Linked DNA regions of Homo sapiens: region 2 is linked to region 1. Evidence: promoter capture Hi-C in 16 types of primary human blood cells and fetal thymus (Javierre and others, 2016). All regions are on one chromosome and are shown on one strand. The core of a region is centred on a gene start or on the middle of the fragment in contact, and the rest is flanking DNA. Distances in the headings are between cores, read along the strand shown. Region 1 holds the start of SH3YL1 (SH3 and SYLF domain containing 1). Region 2 holds the start of LOC102723730 (a long non-coding RNA gene).

What was found. Contacts are between HindIII fragments. The CHiCAGO score rates a contact against its expected background, and 5 or more counts as called.
Region 2: a fragment that was not itself captured here is called in contact with the fragment with the promoter of SH3YL1 in region 1 in 1 of 17 cell types (total B cells); the score reaches 6.4 in total B cells.

Annotation. Positions count from the first base shown.
Region 1 is chr2:261,826-265,770 of GRCh38, reverse strand. It overlaps SH3YL1 (SH3 and SYLF domain containing 1), which reads left to right and starts at 1,739. Exons shown (of 10, transcript NM_015677.4): 1 at 1,739-1,787. The coding sequence starts at 1,787. It overlaps ACP1 (acid phosphatase 1), which reads right to left and starts at 824. Exons shown (of 6, transcript NM_004300.4): 1 at 764-824. The coding sequence starts at 806. RefSeq lists an enhancer at 714-763 and silencers at 1,114-1,193, 1,264-1,843. The HindIII fragment of the contact is 12,050 bases long and covers 1-3,365 here.
Region 2 is chr2:1,550,104-1,554,048 of GRCh38, reverse strand. The region is part of intron 4 of LALTOP (lung cancer associated lncRNA targeting TOP2A); the gene reads left to right. LOC102723730 (a long non-coding RNA gene) reads right to left here and starts at 2,119. Exons shown (of 3, transcript NR_168373.1): 1 at 1,495-2,119; 2 at 1,192-1,311. RefSeq lists a silencer at 3,130-3,239. The HindIII fragment of the contact is 224 bases long and covers 1,690-1,913 here.

The DNA.
Region 1 (3,945 bases), core at 490-2,989:
ACTCACAGAAGGTTTTAAGTAACCGGACTACTGACAATTTAGGCCTTCCTCTCAGGGTGGAGGCACCGAGGAATATAACCTTGTAGTGCTACACCAAAGGAAGATCCCTGAAGACCAAACGGAAAATAAATTATGTTTGAAGTAAGGCAAGCTAAGTGTTGAAATTCTAGGAGTGAAAATAATTTAAGCTGGAAAGTTCCTGAAAAGCCATTAATAAAATACACTTTCATTTTTCATGGGCCAAAGTTATATAGGGACCTCCAGGTCTCCTTTGCTTGGCTTTTACAATCAAGAAACCCGAAACCGTAAAACTTCATCTCCCTTTAACTCAGATCCCTATCTAAGCATGGGCTAAGGAAACTAGCAAACAAAACAATGTTGTCATAGGACTCAGGAGGCCCCTAAGAGACCACATCAGTCCGACAACCTCCAGGCCTACCTGGGCCCATTGGAGGGGAACGAGAGGGATTCTAGTAGTCGCAAAGAAAGTACCTTGGCTTGTAGGGGCTGTGGCTGCAGATGCCAAGAGCCCCGGATATATGGCAGGCGCGAGGGGACCCAGGTTTAGCGGGCAGGCTGGGCGGGTGCACGGGGCGGATGGGGAACAGGGGCGCTGCGGCACACTCCTAGAACACCCTAGGCCTCCCAGTCCCTGGCCTCCTCCCCCTCATGGTTCCTAGGCCGGCGGCACAACCTACAGCGCACAAGCCCGATCCAACTCTCCAGAGGACGTCAGAACATGAGTAAGTCGGCGCCCTCTTACCCAGACACACAAACAGCACGGACTTGGTAGCCTGTTCCGCCATCTTCCCGCGCGCAGAGGCGCCGAGACACCGCGGCGTTCCGCACGCCGACGCGGCGCAGGCGCACTGCCACCCTCTTGCCCCGCGCGCCTGCGCAGTCCCGCACCAACGCCAACAGGGCAGCGCGTGTGAGAGCCACGCCTGCGCAATCGGCTCCAGTGCGCCTGCGGAGGCGGTCCTATGACGGTAGTAGGACGGGCGGGGAGGGTCCGCGGGTCACCTGCAGGGACTGGGCCGCCGTTCACCTGCAGGGGCGGGGCTGCAGGTTGTCCGGAGGAGGAGGAGCTGCGGGGGTGGGGTCACCTGGAGGGAGTAGGGCCGCGGAAGGCGAGGGGGTGTGTGTGTGTGGTGGCGGGGGTTGGCGGGGGGGAGTCACCTGGAGGGGGCGGGGCTGCGGGTCGCTTGGAGGGGAAGGAGCCGCGGGAGGTAAAGGTTACCTATAGGGGACGGGGCCGCAGGAGAGGGGTACCTGGAGGAGGAAGGGCCGCGGGTCACCTGCAGGGCGGGCTCAGGCCTCGCGGCTCCGCGGGCCGCCCACCTGGGTTGGGGCACAGCGCGAGTCTCGCGCACGTGGCGGGCTGTGGTGCCTGTCGTTCGAGTTCGCATAGAGGGGCTGGGCGGGTCACGCGGGGAACCTGCCTTGAGCCCCGCGGGGTCCACGCCGGACCAGGGCGGCCTTGGGCCTGGGCGCTCCCTGAGACCCCCACCCCCAACACCGTGCTTGGAGCCGCCGCGGGGCTCTGGGCTTTTCGATCTTGAGGACGGGGCGGTTCCGAAGTCCCTGAGGGCGAAGGCCTGAGCGCGGCCCGGCGGGCGCGTGGTTTTTGTCCCGCGAAACGTACACGGCGGGTGTTTTGCGCCGCCTCCTTCGTCACCTGCCGCAGGTACGCCCTCGCTGGGGCCTCCTTGTCCGCGGGGCGGGGCAGCGCGCCTTCCTCTTCCTGGGCAGCCTCGGGACGGGGCGCCGCGGCCGGGCGGGCAGCAGTGAGTACCCGGGGACCCACCTGTCCGGCAGCACCCTCCCCTCTCAAGAGCTGGGCGGTGGTGGGAGGAGGAGGACGGGAAAACCGGCGATGCCTCTGGGGTTTCTAGGTCGCGCGTCTGTTAACCGCAAACCGCCCAAAGTTAAGATAGAGCAGCTTCCAGGACTTTCTTGACCACAGCGATTTTGATTGAAGTTTAGCCACCGTCTTTTCCATTTTTAGAAAAGCTATTCCGAAGTTTGGAATGATGACGATGGTCGTGTTATTTTTAACTTCCTGATATTTGAACGGCGAGGTGTCAGCGACCATCCTTCCGTTCCACAGAAGCGTCTCTGAAGTTTGGGTCGAATGCGCGCGCTTGGAATGTGCGTGGAACCCGCGGCAGGCGCGGGGAGGAGGCCTTGGCTAGGGCGCCGGCGAGGTTCGAGTTTGCCAGCCCCCCAACCTGGAAGAGAAGGGCCAGCCCCTCACACCCGGAAGGGAAGGGCCGGTCCCCCCAACACCTGGCGCCGGGGTCGCGGGGCCACAGGGCGAGCGCGGGGTCGCGGCGAGCACGGGTCCTCTCTGATCGCTGGGCCTTGGCGCTGGCTGCTGAGTTTTTCCTTCTTTAAGGAAGTGTGGAACTGGTCTCAATCGGTTGACCACCTTAAGGAAATAGGATTTACACTGTGGACAGAGATGTGTCCTTTACACTTCATTTGAACCAATATGCCCATGCTCCTGTGGAGGCTGAGTTGGAAAGTGACACGAAGCTGCCCCCCCGCAAGAGAGCAGGTGCTCGGTTTCTCTTCTGCTTACAGGAGATGCATGTCCTGATTTCTTGTTCTCCTAGGTGTTTTTATTGAGATGTAGGGAATATCTGAATTCATAACGACTTAGAAAATCTGTACACACAGTTGAGAGAACAGGTCTCGAGGCTAAGGTGCTGTTTACTCCCGTGGGCTGGCCTGTTATTAAAATACTTGTGCAGCGACTGATGTTTACAAATTACTATGTTGGAGGTTAAAATGATCAAAGTGATAACCTCCATCCTGTCTATCATGTTTGAGGAGAATTGGTTATTTGGTTCACTAATGTTCTGTTTAAAGAAAATTTCTGTAAAACTAGTAAATGTTACCCCTCATCTTTTGTAAGTTAAAAAAAAGTTTAAAATAATGTTTGCTCATCAAAAGTGATTTGATACTTTTGTTCTGTTTAGGAAAACTTTATTCTCAAGAGATTTCTCATTCCGCAGAAATAAGGATCTGGCATGTCAACACAAACATAGGAAGTTGAGGCAGTCAAAGGGAAATAACTGCTACCCTGACTCTGCTGAGAGCCTCACAAGTCCCTGTGCACGCCAGCTTGTTTGCCAGTGAGTGGCGTCATGATAAGACAAAATTCTCTGCTCTGAGACCTAAGCACATGAAGTTTTTAAAAAAATTTTCTCTGAGAAGATCCCATTTTTTACTCTAAAAGATCAGACCAGTGTGGCATGTGTGGAACTGCTCTGTACCAAGATCACACTCTTCAGTTGGAGAAGAGGAAGGGCAGGAATAAATAAAGGGCTTTCCTGTCTCCCGAGGGAGCAGAGAAAGCTTTCGCTGTCCTCTTCCTTCCCCAGCCACAGCCTGGGGTTGGGGGACTGGAAACAAGCTCAGGCTAGCACTTGATGTTCAGACGGTAGTCTGAAAGTTTGACTAGGGAGTTAATGATCTGACCAGAGAGACAGGTTTTTATTTTGAGAACTGACAAGCTTTGTGTCCTTAAAACAAAGGAAGTAGTTAAACCAAGGCCCCAGAAAGGTAAGAATTGACTTAAGAAACAAAGGCCATAGTTGTCAAGCAGTGGAGTTCAAAATGCAGTTTTGTTAATAAAAGTAGCTTAAAGCAACATTTGAAAGCCTCTCTAAAGATTAGATACATACACTTTCTTTTGGCTAAGATTTCTTTAGTTTATTCTAAATATACCTTTAGCAGCATTCAAGTTCCTTTGATCTTAGATGGAATTTTATCAGTTTAATGAGTTAACCTCCATTTCACATAAAGTATAAGGTTTAATAATTTGATTAATATGTAATCAGTAAGAACTTGGAAAACCAAATTTAGTAAGCTTGCTTTCCTGTAAGTATTCCTTTCATAATTAGAGTCCATTGAAGAAAATAATATAAGGGAAGCAAA
Region 2 (3,945 bases), core at 552-3,051, 1.3 Mb before region 1:
GAAATAGATTTAACCTGTGACCTCCTTGAAACAGGCTGTAGCCCTGTCATACTTCTGTCTCTGCTTATAAAATGAAACTTTAACTTCTCACTTTAAAAGCAGAGCCCATTCATCTAGAGTCTGTGTTTCCAAGGTGATGACCCTCAAGCTTTGCACTCAAATAAACTCTATACTGAATCATCTTTTCCAAATTTCATTATTGACGATTGGCATTTTGCTAACCACAAAGGGATGTGAAGTGGGCCTCCAGTGATCCCCATTACATCACCAACAGCCAGAGCCTTGCTGTCAGCACACATGGCTTGGGTTCACCGGACCTCGCTGGAGTCAACACGGACCTCTGGGAAGGATCTTCTCGGGTCCGAACCTCCCAGCTTGTTGAAGTTCTGACTTTTATTTGAGCCACACAAATTCCTAACTCGATAGGGCTGGAAGACCTACTGCAAGCTTGGAGTTTTGTTTGTTATTCTTCTGGGATTCTGCTGACCCCAGATTCAAGACTTTGATTTTTTTTTGAAGTTAAGGTTCTGTTTTGAATTATTCATTAGAGTTTCTAGAACCTTTTGTCCCATTTGAAATTTTGGTCAGGAAGAAAACAGTTTCTCTTTGAAAAGAGAAATTGAAGCTATGTGGATTGAGCAAAATTTGTAATGTTTGAAACTGGCCAGATTCTGAAGGCCAATTCAATAAGCAAATGTAAACTTCCTTCTCAAGTGACCAGAATTATAAAAGGTCCTCTAGGAGGACGAGGTAAGGCCCAGAAGGGAAGGACAGTGTACCTCCTAACTGAAAAAGGCCCTGAATGATAGCCACGTGTCATGTTAATAAACAATGAAGATGCTTTTATGAGAAAGGCTGCATTACAGGCTCGTATAGCCTTAGACAGACTCACTGCAGCCCCAGAGGGAACCTGCACCATCACAAAGACTGAACGTCATGTCCCTAACCCAGATGAATCAGATAATGTCCCTAAATTAATTACCGATATGAAAACCCAATAACAAAACTTTCAGATCCAAAACCTCTCCACACAGTTGGTTAAGCAGCTGGTTTAGGTCTTGGGGAACTTGGCAGAAGCAGCTGTTAATCAATCGTTGGTTGGGTTCTGGCCTGTTTTGTCTTCCCTGCTCTGGCATTGGTGTGCAATGGAGTCAGTTCACAACTGAAGATACTAAAATAATCGTCACTCACAGAATCCCATTAACGGACAATGCAGCTGTGTAGCCTGACCAAGGTCACCACGTCACTTCCTTCATGTGGCTCCAGGTTCGGCCTATGCCCCGTCAGTTCTGTACAGCTTGGCACATGGCCCTAGACATGGGAGACAACGTCCTAGGAGTGAACCTTCCTAAGTATCTGGGGCTAAGCCCCTAAACATACAGAGATTCCCAAACCATCTGCATTCAGCTACTAAGCTTTCTTCAAAAGGATCATGTTGATGTTGAAAAGGGGAGATGTGAAATTAATCCAAACTGAAAGCTGTTGGAACCGTACCTGATTTTGAGCCTTGAGAGGAACGTGGCTGTGGGGCCTGCGTCGCATGGTGTGAAGCTGCACCTTCTGCTTCTTTATTCTGGGTCAAATCTCTTCCTCATTCTTGTCCTGTAATGATTAGGAAAGACTGAATGGTACCAGAGGTGAGACCGCCTCAAGACCATTACCCTTCCTTATGGGATGTTAAAACAAGCTTCCTTAGTGTAGCGAGCTGTGACCAATCAAGTCAAATCGCTATAACCTATGTCTTGATCTTGTTGGAAAATGCTGCAACCTGTTAAACCTCTGCCTCTGACTATGTAAATGAGACTTTAACTTTCCATTTTGAGAGTCTGTGTTTCCTATGTGACTATCCTCCAACTTCGTGTTCAAATAAACTCCACACTTCATCATATTTTTGGATTCTAAGTATTTAAGCTTGAAAATTGCAAAGACACATTATCATGTTTATGCGCTGTCAGCATTCTATGGAAGTTTAGTGCAATTAAAATCGGGAAAAGGGTCAGGTGCAGTGGCTCACACCTGTAATCCCAGCACATTGGGAGGCCGAGGTGGGCAGATCACCTGAGGCCAGGAGTTAGAGACCAGCTTGGCCAACATGGTGAAACCTCATCTTACTAAAAATACAAAAATTAGCTGGTATGGTGACAGACACCTGTAATCCCAGCTACTAGGGAGGCTGAGGCAGGAGAATAGCTTGAACCTGGGAGGCAGAGGTTGCAGTGAGCCGAGATCGTGCCACTGTACTCCAGTCTGGGCGACAGAGTGAGACTCCATCTCAAAAAGAAAAAAAAATTGAAAAGACTTTTTTGTTTCAGTGTACATTACAACCACTCAAATTAGTTATGGGTATACTTTTCTTGCCTTTTTTTCACAGTTTCTGCAGGAGGTGGGCTGCCTTGTGCTGGTCAGGATGTCAAGCACCTTTGGGACTCTGCCCATTAAACCACAGGGGATTTCCTCATTATTGCGACAATTCCATCCCCAGAAATATCCCACGTGCCTGAGGTGGCGGCCATCTCTTCGTAGGGAGACTGTCGGAGCTTCCTTTTAAACAGACTCTGCCCTGTCTCTGTGAAGACGTTCAGGTGCTGAGCACACGGAGGGCGGTGGGTGGGGGGACATGAGACTGTAGGCAGCTCTCTAGAGCCCCTTTCACACGTGGGTCGTCACCCACCGACTTTCGGATCTCTGGGAGTGGGAACTGCACAGGCTGGGATGTTGTTTGGGGTCATTGCACCGAGAAGTGTTCCATGTGCAATGTGGTTAGAATCTTGTCACCCTAGGAATGGAAGGTCTTCAAGACCATGGTATCCAACCCCTCCATCATGCAGATAGGGGACCTCAGGCCCTCAGGGCGATAAGAAGGAATCAGGCTTTCGAAGGTTAAGGAAGTGTCAAGTGCAAAACTCGGTCTCTGGAGCCCTGAGGTGGAGCCTCACCCTCACCCTGGCCCCGGCGTCCTCAGCCTGTGGGCGCCCAACTGCTCTGACGCAGCAACTGGCACGACCACCAGCCCCAGGGAGCAGCAGCGAGTTTCCAGGGTTAGGAATCACCCGGGAGACAGTAATTCAGACTCCCAGGCTCCACAGAAACCTGCAGGGACCTCGGGGAAAGGGAGCTTCGTCCTAAGGCTCCGCTTTGGGGAGAGGCTGGGCGGCCACTAGGTGGCGCTGCGGAGCCGCGTCTTCGGCCGCAGGTGCCCGCGCTTGGGAGCGGGAAGCCAGGCTGGGTCATGCCGGTGCTGTCACTGCAGGAGGCAGAGACCCCACATCCCGCAAAGACGGAGGGGCTGGATTCCACCAGCAGCTGAGCCCATCTCTCCGCCCTTAAAAATCAAACCACATCTTAGGACAATATCAGGCTTGCGAACGAAGCGTCCAGGGGTGGCCCACGTGGGAAGGAGGGTGAGGCCGTGGGCCCCCTCGGTCCAACCTCACAGCCTCTCTGCTCTCCCCACTTTCGAGGCAGATTTCTGGGAATTTGGGAGTTCAGAGGGAGGAGAAATAAGTCGTTTGTCAGCAGCCTGCTCCCTGATCTCCAAGGTCCCTAGAAGGACAGGCGCTCCTCACACGGCCAAGCCTGGCCCGGTCCAGGTCTCTCCATCCAGCAGCCCTGCGCTCTGTCTCTCCCTGTACACTTTCCTCCCTGCCTCCCTCCCTCCATTTCTCCCTTCCTTCCTTCCCTCCCCGCACAGGATCTGCCATTCCTTAGCTGTGAAATGCGGGCACAGGGCCTGTGATTGATTGCACTCTGGGTGACAGCAGTAGCAGTACCCTCAGGCAGGTCAGTTGACTCAACAGAACCAGGTCAAAGTCCCCCAGCCCACGGGTCCAGCTCAGTCAGCCTCTGCTGGTCTACAGGAGCCCAGCCCTGGAGCAGGGACACCTTTGCACCAACAGTGCTGCATGAGATGGGCTGGGGTGAGCCCCCAAAGCCAGGGCCTGATGG